Linked DNA regions of Homo sapiens: region 1 is linked to region 2. The links are contacts of gene promoters, found by promoter capture Hi-C in blood cells and fetal thymus (Javierre and others, 2016). All regions are on one chromosome and are shown on one strand. The core of a region is centred on a gene start or on the middle of the fragment in contact, and the rest is flanking DNA. Distances in the headings are between cores, read along the strand shown. Region 1 overlaps GRIA4 (glutamate ionotropic receptor AMPA type subunit 4). Region 2 holds the start of CASP5 (caspase 5).

The links. The method cuts DNA at HindIII sites, captures the fragments that hold promoters and counts their contacts. A CHiCAGO score of 5 or more calls a contact.
Region 1: a fragment that was not itself captured here is called in contact with the fragment with the promoter of CASP5 in region 2 in 1 of 17 cell types (M1 macrophages); the score reaches 5.8 in M1 macrophages.

Annotation. Positions count from the first base shown.
Region 1 is chr11:105,854,034-105,860,864 of GRCh38, reverse strand. The region is part of intron 4 of GRIA4 (glutamate ionotropic receptor AMPA type subunit 4); the gene reads right to left. Among named protein-coding and RNA genes, the nearest start is that of MSANTD4, 160 kb to the left of the region's middle. The HindIII fragment of the contact is 1,331 bases long and covers 3,094-4,424 here.
Region 2 is chr11:105,018,083-105,024,951 of GRCh38, reverse strand. CASP5 (caspase 5) reads left to right here and starts at 1,784. Exons shown (of 10, transcript NM_004347.5): 1 at 1,784-1,822. The coding sequence starts at 1,816. All of the region lies in intron 1 of LOC124902742 (a long non-coding RNA gene), which reads right to left. The HindIII fragment of the contact is 8,276 bases long and covers 1-5,006 here.

The DNA.
Region 1 (6,831 bases), core at 2,510-5,009, 830 kb before region 2:
GCCTCAGCCTCCCAAGTAGCTGGGACTACAGGTGCGTGCCACCATACCTGGCTGATTTTTGTATTTTTAGTAGAGCCAGGGTTTTACCATATTGGCCAGGCTGGTCTTGAACTCCTGACCTTGTGATCCACCTGCCTCAGCCTCCCAAAGTGCTGGGATTATAGGCGTGAGTCACAGCACCCAGCCCCATCTCTCATTTTTGAATTGTAATGTGAGAGAAGAATAAAAAAAAGATTCTTTGAATTTATAAATATCCCATACACTAAGATTGGTTAGGATCAGAGCCTGTTAGTCAGTTATATTTTCACTTTATGGTTTAGCATAAACAGAATATTCTAGTCCTCTTTAACAAAGTCTAACACTTATTTGAGCTCATTCTATAGCAACTGTCTGTAGTTTCTTCTTCCTGTGATACTGGAATTGGGTAGAGAGCTGGGTGGATTAAAAGTGAAGATTTAAAACGAGTATACCGCACTTGGAAGATTAGGGCATATTTGTTGAGTTTTCTAATTGGTATGTGAGTCTCATAGATTCAGAGATTTTGAATTTTTTCAGGTATGTTTTCTACATGTCAGAGTTCCAAACATTACTGATGCTCAGTTAAGATCAACAGATGGAACTGATGATGAGATCATATTTGAAATATAAATTATCTGATATCCTGCCAAATGAAATACTGTGGCAGTCAGGATTCATTTTTATCTAAATGAAAAAAAATTCCCCGAAGAGGAAGAAAGAGGGCATGTTAATTACTATATAATTATTCTGGTATATCTATTGCTCCATTTAGTCTTTCCTTTTGTAATGCGTGCCAGTAATTATCTTTTCAAATCTTACCTAGATCCTCCGCCCCAAAACCCCAGCATTCTTTCTCTTGTTTCCCATTCGACACATATGTAACGTGATGACATGAAACCTTCCTTAATATATATGTTCATGCCTCATTTATTCTGTTGCAGGGGCTTATGCTCTGATGGTAACTGAGGCAATGTTCTTTTAAATCTTTTTTTGACACCTATGAACATGTTCTTCGACTTAAAATGAATGCTTTTAAAAATACCAATTGACGTATTACTTTTCTTTTTTCTCCTTTTATTTATCATCATACCAGAATAATGCTAAGATTTTTTTTGTTTGCTTGAGTGTTGCAAAAATAATAAAAACGGCCCCCACACATAGAAATAGTCTTCTCCCTGGGCTTAATTCACAGCTTGGCACGATACTCTAAATATTGCTGCATTTCTGGCTGTCAGGCTTCATGTCAGGACTAGGCATCCATGTTGTTATTCTCCTGCTGACATGACTTTTACAGAATGTGGAGCCACACACCTTCTGATGAAATTTATAGATATGCCCACTTACCTTACAAATTGAAGGACTAACTCTAAAAACAAAATTATAATTCAAATCCAGCCTTCCATTATCTGATTTTTTAGATTTACAAATGACACTAGAATTGGAATCAGACAGAACCCTAGGACACAATCTTTGTTGAATGGCAAAGAAAGTTGGTTACTTAAAAAGCCCCATTAATCATAGTCAGAAATAAATGGCATCCTTTCATTGCAGTGCAAAGGACATGCAGTAATAGTTTCAGAGCTTGGCTAAAATCATACTCTTTTATAAGCTATGTTTGATTCTAATATGCTCTCTTATTATTCATTGATATTCAGATGTGAGTGTCTTATTTATTTGCTAACATAGCTGGAAATATATTGTAACTAGGATAAAATACTGCTGTTGAATCTATGATTATGTAACTTAGTTGTTATATAAACTAGATAATCATAAGTCAAGTCATACTATTTCCACATCTGGCTATGATTTGCATCTCCTAGGTATTAGAAAATTTGTAGTATAATATTGTTGGCCAAAGAATGAATACTGCAGTTTTAGATGAATATCATGTAGTTAACAGGAAATTCACTACTGTAAAGGATATTTTAAATCTTGCTTCTACTCTAAAAAGCTGTCTAACATTTTAATTCTATATAATTTACTGAAAACCTACTACATACAGAATTCTATAAATTATATCAAGATAAAGATGTGGGAACTGGATGACATTTTGTTAACTGAAATAAGCCAGGCACAGAAAGACAAGTTTCCCATGTTCTCACTCATTTATAGGAGCTAAAAGTTAAAACAACTGAACTTATTGGAGATAGTAGAATGATGGTTACCAGAGGCTGGGAAGGATAGTGAGGGAGGAGGGAAATGGGGATGGTTAATAGGTACAAAAATATAGTTAGATAAGATAAATAAGATATAGTCTTTGATAGCACAACAGGGTGACTAAAGTCAACAATAATTTATTGTACATTTTAAAATAACTGTAAGAGTATAACTAGAATGTTTATAACATAAAGAAAGAATAAATGCTTGAGGAGATGGATACTAAGTTACTCTGATGTGATCATTATGCACTGTATGCCTGTATCAAAATATTTCATGCACCCCATAAATATACACAGCTACTATGTACCTATAAGAACATTTTTAAAAAGATAGGTAATGTGAAATACAAAGGTGAAACAAAAGATAAAGATGTGATTCTTGTCTTTACAAAGAATTTACTATCTAGGAAAACCGATAGGTAAACTATCCATTATGCAAAATACACAGCATTATATAAATAAATTCAAAGTAATGAAAATAATTTTTTAGAATAGCAGAGCATATCATCGACATAATCACTTTATTAGATTATAATAGTAATTAAGGGCTTTTTCATAGTTACTAAAGAACACTGTCAATTACATATAAAATATTTTTAAGTGTTATGATATCACATAAAGATTTTATCAATTATGTTAAATAGAATCAAAATGAGGTAAGCAGTCCTGAGCTACTGCACCCTTACATGTCAACACTTATTACATCATCCATGGATAATGACCTATTTTGCATGAGTACCAATTCAGAGATGTTGCTACTCACAACAATAGCTGGGCTTATTTATTTGATGTTTTTGTTTGCAAGAGTTATTTAACTGTCAGCACACAGAGCAGCAGAAAGAGAAGCAGAATACATTTGTGCCAGGGAAGAAAGTATTTAGAAAAGAAAGAGTTATCCATATGCCCTGAAAAAGCTTTACTTGGATGAGAACTAGAAAGTGTCCATTCTGCTTTTCAATGAGAAGGTCATTGGTGCACTTAGCATGAGCAGGGTTAATGGAATGCTGGATATAGAAGACATTTTTCAGATTGAGAAATTGAGGAGAAAATGGGAAGAGGTGAGAATGTGGAAATAATCAGGGAATATCATCAGAATAATGAAGTAATAAGATGAAGGGTATGCCAGTTTGATGAATATGGGATAGAGAAACATCTAGATTATGGGAACTGGTTTGGGAAGGAGAAGACTAGGTCTGTCCCATGGGGGGTTGCTGAGCCTGAAAAGGGAACATGGCAAGGGGCATAGCAGCAGCTTGTAGTTAGTTAAATTAAAGCCTCCCTCATAAATCTTGTAAATTGCTATGGAGGTTCTTGCTGCTACATCATCAATATCTCTGGTCTGGCACAATTTGTCAGTATCCAAAACTGGTGGATTCAAGGAGAAAGGTGTGTGTGTCTGTGTGTGTCTAACGCCACTTATTGATTTGAGTCAAGAAAGGAATAAGATTCTGTAATCCTCACTGCATTTAATGCCACCATGCTGGAACTGTAGAGTAGATTTAATAACCATTTAGGTTGGACTCTTTCCAAAGCAGCTTAGTACTGAAATAACATGTTCAAAGGCCACAGTCTGGACTCCCAGGTTTCAGTACATGGAGGAATAACCAACATTGTAGCTTGGGTAAAATTACCTGCAGCTGTAACTATAGTATTTATTTATGCCGTAGTTCAAAAAGGGCATACTAAAAATAAGCAAAGATTTTCCTACTTTTACAGCCTGAAGCTATTCACGTAAACCCAAGATAAGATGGAATGTCTTGAGTTTTCCCTTTTCTACAAACACTCAAGAGTAAAAGTAGAGAATTCATCTTCAAAGATGGATTGATAATAATCATTGTTAAAGGTGGTTATTCTGGGTCCTAGATTTTTCCTAAGGCATTTTCTGACACTAACATTTACTGTCTTCTGATTCCCTAGTATTCATATTTAGTTCAGATGACATCTTATAAGAAAATTTGATACTTTAAATCTTTAAAGTTAAAGCACTGTCGTAGAGTCTGTAAGTTGGTGGTTCTCTACTACTACTTCACCCCTTCATCCAAAGCAGTGGGATTTTAACTTGGACCTATGGACAGTCAGAATAAATATATTTCCTTGCTTCTCTTTCAGCTAGATATATGGCTCTGTGACTAAGTTGTGGGCAATGGGTTATAAGTGGAACGGTTGTGTGGAGGCTTCAGGAAACTCTCCTTAAAAGACTGTATGAATATACTTTTTATCTTGCATAGCAGGTCACATTCAGAAGCTTCAAAAACTTCAGTTTATTTTGTATGTTTGGAAGGACAAGAAGGGATATGTGGAGAATTGGCATGGGCTGTGGAAAGAGCTTCTAAGACTGGAGAGGTGAACAGGCAAGGGATATATTACAAGAGCTTTCTCTATCATTTAAAGAAATTTAGGTTTTACTTCATAGACTCTCAGAAAAGAGTGACAAAACAATGTGTCTTAGAGGGATGATTACAGCTGAAGTGTGGAAAATACAATGGATGTGGGAAACACAGAAATGGGAAAATCACTTAGGAACCCACATGGTAGTAATCCAGGTGAGAAGTAATGGGGGCCAGATTTAGGACCATGCAGAGGAAGGAGAATAGTTTCTAGATTAAGGATACAGAATAAATCAGCTTAGTGATTAATGACACATAAATCATAGAGAGATGATTTGAGTCAGACTACTATCTATTCTACTGGTGGTCATTCTACTTCTATTTTCAGATTGAACTCTTAGGGTTTTTTTGACCTTCAGAAGCACATATTTTTCCATTTGGATTTCAGGTGTCAGTTGACTTCTGATGAAAACTATCCTTGCAGCCACCTCCTTCATCACCCAAAGTAGTATAATAAATTATGACAGAGGTCTGAGAAACCCATTTTTCTCTCTGGTTATAGACATCAATGATTCTAGAAACAATCTGTAGATTTTGAATATTCCCTATGAATACACTGATCTCTTTTCAAGTTTGCCTCCATCATTATTTATCTTCTTAGCACTGTGGGCCTCCACAAACATCTTTTTACAATAAAGGCAATGTGTTTCTATTTTAAGTAAAGCATTTTTGAAAAATTTGAATAATTTTAAACTCAAATAGCAAAAGACTAATTTCCAATCAGAATAAATATCTAGCATAATTACTATATAGCTATTATTTTGCTCATAAAGTACAACTTTTTCTTTTATCTGTTTTACTATATATTTTATATATCACACTATATAAAATTTATAATTCTGATTTGATACTTTTTTATATCACATTATATAAAGCTCACAGTTCCAATGTGTGTAAAAACAACCATTGTATTTTTATAAGGGAATTAAAATATATGTTTGTGAGTTAACAGGCACTCAAACAAGGTCTTTGTCTAATATTAAGCATGTAAGGTATGTAAGACATAATTTTGAGTGTCAAACCTATTCAATATTGCGATACCTTGGGAAAGCAGTGTTAAGCAAAAGATTAGACCCTTTCAAAGGGGGTTTCACCATGGAGAGAATGACTTGGACTGTAGTATGGTCCCTAAAGGATGGAAAGGGTTGATGAATAAAGATGGTGAGGAGGAAGGAGCTGCTGCATCATAAAGCAAAGGCACAGAGGCAGGAGCTTGGAGAATGCTTAATAAATTATTAATCATTGATAGTTAATAGAGCAGGCTGCTGGAGTAATGTATTCATAAACTACATTATGCTTTATTAGTATTTCACAATACAGTTGAACCTCATAACAGCCCTGTGAAGTAGATATTATCCCCACCATAAAGGTGAAGAAATAAAAACAATTTATGTGACTTACATCAAAGCATAACCCCACTAAGTGGCAGAAATGTGAATGAACTCAAGTCTTCCATTCTCCAGCTTAGGGACTTTTCACCACACTTCAGCATGCAGAGAGAGCGATGAAATTAGCAAGGAAGGATGAGGCTGTGATGTGAAGGCCTTTCAATCACAGTCACCATTAATTCCATTCTTTCTCTCACAATCACATCTCGTATTTTAGCATATTCTGTCAAGGCTACCTTCAAAATATATCAAAAACCTGGCCATTTCTTCCTACCGACACTGCCTCCACCCAGGCCCAAGCCTCTTGTTTGCAAATGCCTCTTTACATGTCTTTTATTTCCTCCACCTTTGCCCGCTTTGCACTACTCATAGCATAGCTTCAGGAATGGAACTTTTCAGGCAAGCCAGATCATACCACTTACAGGTCCAAACTCTCCAATTGCTCCTTTATACTGACGTCATCCACTGCTCTCTTGCTCTCAAACATCACCAGACATCTGGCTGCTTTGCCAGGGGTGCTCTGGCTCAGGCTTCACCCTGCTGTGCTTTCCCCAAGATGGGTCTTCAGGGTTTTGCCTTTATGTTCTTAGGTTTCTACCCAAATGCCCTCTCTTCAGTGAGGCCGTTCTGGGTTACTTTATCTAAAATTTCAGCTCCTTCATCCTGTGCTTTTCTATTCCTCTTCTCTGCTTTACTTTCTCCCCAACACTTCACCACCACCTAATATACTCTAGATTTTACTCACTCACCTTGTTTATTGTCTCTTTCCCATACTAAAAGGTAAGCTCATGAAGTCAGGAGGCTTGTTTTGTTCACTGTGCCTAGAAGAAGACTTGGCATCTAAAAGGGACTCGATAAATAGTTTTGGATAATTAAATA
Region 2 (6,869 bases), core at 535-3,034:
CCCTGAAGAAACTCTAGGATGCATGGTGTGCACAGTGAAGTCCTGGCATGGTGCAGAGAAAACGAGTTTGGGGTGAAATCATGCACTCAGGGATGTTAAGATTTAGGGAGGATTCGAAGAACTACCCCTTACTTGCAAATATGTTTTTTTCTAATATTTAACAGATTAAATGAGAGTTAATTTCTGACTTCTTAAACACCTTCATAGTTGAACACATTACAGTCTCTCTCTCTCTCTCTTTTTTTTTTTTTTTACCTTTTATTAACTGTTTCTCTGGGCATATCTCTTCTGTGTTATCATGCATACTCTACTACAACCTGAGACTACATCTGTGATCAGTCTTTGCTCAGAGAATATCAAAAAGGAGAAGTGAATTGCCACCCTAAGTAAAAATTAACTGTTAAAGCAGTTTTAGTCAGTTGAAGAACAGCATTCCAGGAAGTAGATAAGAGGATTCCTTCAGAACTGTCTCCAATCAAAGCGTAAGATGACAGGGAGATGGGGAGGAGAAGACTCCATCATGATTCCTCAGCACAGTTTAAACAAGAAATACATTTATTGAATAAACAATCCTTTCCTTGTTTCTTTTTGCTGTTGTTGTTGACTTTGTTGAGTATCAGTTGGTTATAGGTGTGTGGCTTTATTTTGGGGTTCTCTATTCTGTTCCATTGGGCTTTGTGTCTGTTTTTTTTGTACGAATACCTTGCTGTTGTGGTTACTGTAGACTTCTAGCATAGCTTGAAGTCCAGTAATGTGATGCATCCATCTTTTTGAAAAGCAGTTTGGAGATTTACCAAATAACTAAAAAAAGAACTATCATTTGTCCAAGCATCCCATTACTGACTGAATCCTCAAAGGAAAATGTACTGTTCTATCAAAAAGACATGTGCTTTCAAATGTTTGTCGCAGCACTATTCACTGTAGCCAAAATAATAGAATCAACCCAGGTGTCCATCAATGGTGGATTGGATTTAAAAAAATGTGGTACACTGCTACTATGGAATGTTACACAGCCATAAAAATGAAACCCTGCCCTTTGCAGCAACATGGATGCAACTGGAGGCCATTATTCTAAGCAAATTAATGCAGAAACAGAAAACCAAATATCACATAATCTCACTTGTAAGTTCTAGCTAAATATTGTGTACACATGGACATAAAGACGGGAATAACAGACACAGGGAAATACCAGAGGGAGGAATGAAGGAAGAAGGCAAGAGCCGAAAAACTATGTACTGGGTGCTATTCTCACTACCTAGGTAATAGGTTAAATTGTACTACAAACCTCTGCATCACCTAATATACTCTTGTAACAAACCTGCATATGTACCCCTGAAACTCAAATAAAAATTGAAATGAAAAATAAAGAAACCCAAGATATACAAAATATTTGGTTAATTCTTATGGGAAGATGCAAGGAAACTAGTTAGATTTTACTCATTCAGGACATGTGTTTTTAGACGAGCAGAGGTAGAAAAACTGACAGATCAGAAGAGAGGGATGAATAAAAGAAGATGTGGGGCTATGGAGAGAGAAAAGGAAAAAGAAAACCAGGCTGAGGTTTCAACCCACAAAACAATGTTTTGTCATTTGCATTTTTTTTCCCCAGGGAAGAATCTAGAGTTCAAGAATAGAAAGCCAATTTGCTTACTACAGGGCACTTCCCAATGATGAAACTATAGGTTCCCAGAAGCAACTTCCCATAATCTGTAATCACTTGTCCCCACTCCCTGCAATAAGGAAGTACCTAGTGTATTTTATCTCTGAGTCTGAGGCACTTTCCAGTGCTGTACAAAGAGACAGAGGCTGTTAGCTATGGCTGGTGAGTCTGGGCCCTTTTCTGACTAGCAGCTGGGTACTCAGGTCTTAGAAAAATCTTGATTTATTGCTATGTGACAGGCAGAAATACCAAAAGGGAAATCAACCAATAGTGTGCATGCTGAATCTTTCTCTTATTGGTGGTATGTAGTTTGAATCCTGAGACTGTGTAGAGACACTGAAGGAGAGTATGTTCTCTAGATGTTTTCAAGCCAGAAAAAGGTTAATTCCTTTCTTTCAGCTTCTGGTAATCAAAGAGAGAGTAAGGAAAGACAGAGTAAGTTATTTGTGTGAGAAAACTCCGGAAATTTCTAAATGCACTCTGAAATCTTCTCTGCTTCCTCTTGATTCCAAATTAATCCTCCAGACTATGAACCTTCTCCCCACAATCAGATCTGAGAGCCTCTGTGTTCTCAACGTGTTGTCATCTCTTATCTTGAATTATCTTATTGGTCTGTTTAAAGTGATTGCATTTTTCCACCTTTCTATGTAGTCCTGGTACTAACTCTTATAATGTAATATATCTTAGGTTGCTATCATAGACTTTTAACTGTCTTCCCACTCCCAAAAACTTAACCCTTCAGTCCATACTGCACACTACTTTCAGGCCAACTGTCTTATACACAGAAGCTAAAAAAGCCTATGAGTTGGAGTCCTGGGCTACTTAAGCAGCTCGTATTCCAGCAGGTCATATTGCGTCTTTGGTTTCATTCTCCTCACTGGAAAAAGGAAGAAACTGGAATAGATCAGTGCTTTCTAAACCTTATAACATATATGAATAATCTGCAGTCTTTTTTTTTCTTTAATTTATTTATTTATTATTATTATACTTTAAGTTTTAGGGTACATGTGCACAATGTGCAGGTTAGTTACATATGTATACATGTGACATGCTGGTGGGCTGCACCCACTAACTCGTCATCTAGCATTAGGTATACCTCCCAATGCTATCCCTCCCCCCTCCCCCCACCCCACAACAGGCTCCAGAGTGTGATGTTCCCCTTCCTGTGTCCATGTGTTCTCATTGTTCAGTTCCCACCTATGAGTGAGAATATGCGGTGTTTGGTTTTTTGTTCTTGTGATAGTTTACTGAGAATGATGATTTCCAATTTCATCCATGTCCCTACAAAGGACATGAACTCATCATTTTTTATGGCTGCATAATATTCCATGGTGTATATGTGCCACATTTTCTTAATCCAGTCTATCATTGTTGGACATTTGGGTTGGTTCCAAGTCTTTGCTATTGTGAATAATGCCACAATAAACATACGTGTGCATGTGTCTTTATAGCAGCATGATTTATAGTCCTTTGGGTATATACCCAGTAAAGGGATGGCTGGGTCAAATGGTATTTCTAGTTCTAGATCCCTGTGGAATCGCCACACTGACTTCCACAATGGTTGAACTAGTTTACAGTCCCACCAACAGTGTAAAAGTGTTCCTATTTTTCCACATCCTCTCCAGCACCTGTTGTTTCCTGACTTTTTAATGATTGCCATTCTAACTCGTGTGAGATGGTATCTCATTGTGGTTTTGATTTGCATTTCTCTGATGGCCAGTGATGGTGAGCACTTTTTCATGTGTTTTTTGGCTGCATAAATGTCTTCTTTTGAGAAGTGTCTGTTCATGTCCTTCGCCCACTTTTTGATGGGGTTGTTTGTTTTTTTCTTGTAAATTTGTTTGAGTTCATTGTAGATTCTGGATATTAGCCCTTTGTCAGACGAGTAGGTTGCGAAAATTTTCTCCCATTTTGTAGGTTGCCTGTTCACTCTGACGGTAGTTTCTTTTGCTGTGTAGAAGCTCTTTAGTTTAATTAGATCCCATTTGTCAATTTTGGCTTCTGTTGCCATTGCTTTTGGTGTTTTAGACATGAAGTCCTTGCCCATGCCTATGTCCTGAATGGTAATGTCTAGGTTTTCTTCTAGGGTTTTTATGGTTTTAGGTCTAACTTTTAAGTCTTTAATCCATCTTGAATTAATTTTTGTATAAGGTGTAAGGAAGGGATCCAGTTTCAGCTTTCTACATATGGCTAGCCAGTTTTCCCAGCACCATTTATTAAATAGGGAATCCTTTCCGCATTGCTTGTTTGTCTCAGGTTTGTCAAAGATCAGATAGTTGTAGATATGCGGCATTATTTCTGAGGGCTCTGTTCTGTTCCATTGATCTATATCTCTGTGTTGGTACCAGTACCATGCTGTTTTGGTTACTGTAGCTTTGTAGTATAGTTTGAAGTCAGGTAGTGTGATGCCTCCAGCTTTGTTCTTTTGGCTCAGGATTGACGTGGCAATGCGGGCTCTTTTTTGGTTCCATATGAACTGTAAAGTAGTTTTTTCCAATTCTGTGAAGAAAGTCATTGGTAGCTTGATGGCGATGGCATTGAATCTGTAAATTATCTTGGGCAGTATGGCCATTTTTCACGATATTGATTCTTCCTACCCATGAGCATGGAATGTTCTTCCATTTGTTTGTACCCTCTTTTATTTCCTTGAGCAGTGGTTTGTAGTTCTCCTTGAAGAGGTCCTTCACATCCCTTGTAAGTTGGATTCCTAGGTATTTTATTCTCTTTGAAGCAATTGTGAATGGGAGTTCACTCATGATTTGGCTCTCTGTTTGTCTGTTGTTGGTGTATAAGAATGCTTGTGATTTTTGTACATTGATTTTGTATCCTGAGACTTTGCTGAAGTTGCTTATCAGCTTAAGGAGATTTTGGGCTGAGACAATGGGGTTTTCTAGATATACAATCATGTCGTCTGCAAACAGGGACAATTTGACTTCCACTTTTCCTAATTGAATACCCTTTATTTTCTTCTCCTGCCTGATCGCCCTGGCCAGAACTTCCAACACTATGTTGAATAGGAGTGGTGAGAGAGGGCATCCCTGTCTTGTGCCAGTTTTCAAAGGGAATGCTTCCAGTTTTTGCCCATTCAGTATGATATTGGCTGTGGGTTTGTCATAGATAGCTCTTATTATTTTGAAATACATCCCATCAATACCTAATTTATTGAGAGTTTTTAGCATGAAGCGTTGTTGAATTTTGTCAAAGAACTTTTCTGCATCTATTGAGATAATCACGTGGTTTTTGTCTTTGGTTCTGTTTATATGCTGGATTATATTTATTGATTTGCGTATATTGAACCAGCCTTGCATCCCAGGGATGAAGCCCCCTTGATCATGGTGGATAAGCTTTTTGATGTGCTGCTAGATTCGGTTTGCCAGTATTTTATTGAGGATTTTTGCATCAATGTTCATCAAGGATATTGGTCTAAAATTCTCTTTTTTGGTTGTGTCTCTGCCCGGCTTTGGTATCAGGATGATGCTGGCCTCATAAAATGAGTTAGGGAGGATTCCCTCTTTTTCTATTGATTGGAATAGTTTCAGAAGGAATGGTACCAGTTCCTCCTTGTACCTCTGGTAGAATTCGGCTGTGAATCCATCTGGTCCTGGACTCTTTTTAGTTGGTAAGCTTTTGATTATTGCCACAATTTCAGATCCTGTTATTGGTCCATTCAGAGATTCAACTTCTTCCTGGTTTAGTCTTGGGAGAGTGTATGTGTCCAGAAACTTATCCATTTCTTCTAGATTTTCTAGTTTATTTGCGTAGAGGTGTTTGTAGTATTCTCTGATGGTAGTTTGTATTTCTGTGGGATCGGTGGTGATATCCCCATTATCATTTTTTATTGCGTCTATTTGATTCTTCTCTCTTTTTTTCTTTATTAGTCTTGCTAGCGGTCTATGAATTTTGTTGATCCTTTCAAAAAACCAGCTCCTGGATTCATTAATTTTTTGAAGGGTTTTTTGTGTCTCTATTTCCTTCAGTTCTGCTCTGATTTTAGTTATTTCTTGCCTTCTGCTAGCTTTTGAATGTGTTTGCTCTTGCTTTTCTAGTTCCTTTAATTGTGATGTTAGGGTGTCAATTTTGGATCTTTCCTGCTTTCTCTTGTGGGCATTTAGTGCTATAAATTTCCCTCTACACACTGCTTTGAATGCATCCCAGAGATTCTGGTATGTTGTATCTTTGTTCTCGTTGGTTTCAAAGAACATCTTTATTTCTGCCTTCATTTCATTATGTACCCAGTAGTCATTCAGGAGCAGGTTGTTCAGTTTCCATGTAGTTGAGTGGTTTTGAGTGAGATTCTTAATCCTGAGTTCTCGTTTGATTGCACTGTGGTCTGAGAGATAGTTTGTTATAATTTCTGTTCTTTTACATTTGCTGAGGAGTGCTTTACTTCCAACTATGTGGTCAATTTTGGAATAGGTGTGGTGTGGTGCTGAAAAAAATGTATATTCTGTTGATTTGGGGTGGAGAGTTCTGTAGATGTCTATTAGGTCCGCTTGGTGCAGAGCTGAGTTCAATTCCTGGGTATCCTTGTTGACTTTCTGTCTCGCTGATCTGTCTAATGTTGACAGTGGGGTGTTAAAGTCTCCCATTATTAATGTGTGGGAGTCTAAGTCTCTTTGTAGGTCACTCAGGACTTGCTTTATGAATCTGGGTGCTCCTGTATTGGGTGCATATATATTTAGGATAGTTAGCTCTTCTTGTTGAATTGATCCCTTTACCATTATGTAATGGCCTTCTTTGTCTCTTTTGATCTTTGTTGGTTTAAAGTCTGTTTTATCAGAGACTAGGACTGCAACCCCTGCCTTTTTTTGTTTTCCATTTGCTTGGCAGATCTTCCTCCATCCTTTTATTTTGAGCCTATGTGTGTCTCTGCATGTGAGATGGGTTTCCTGAATACAGCACACTGGTGGGTCTTGACTCTATCCAATTTGCCAGTCTGTGTCTTTTAATTGGAGCATTTAGTCCATTTACATTTAAAGTTAATATTGTTATGTGTGAATTTGATCCTGTCATTATGATGTTAGCTGGTTATTTTGCTCGTTAGTTGATGCAGTTTCTTCCTAGTCTCGATGGTCTTTACATTTTGGCATGATTTTGCAGCGGCTGGTACCGGTTGTTCCTTTCCATGTTGAGTGCTTCCTTCAGGAGCTCTTTTAGGGCAGGCCTGGTGGTGACAAAATCTCTCAGCATTTGCTTGTCTGTAAAGTAT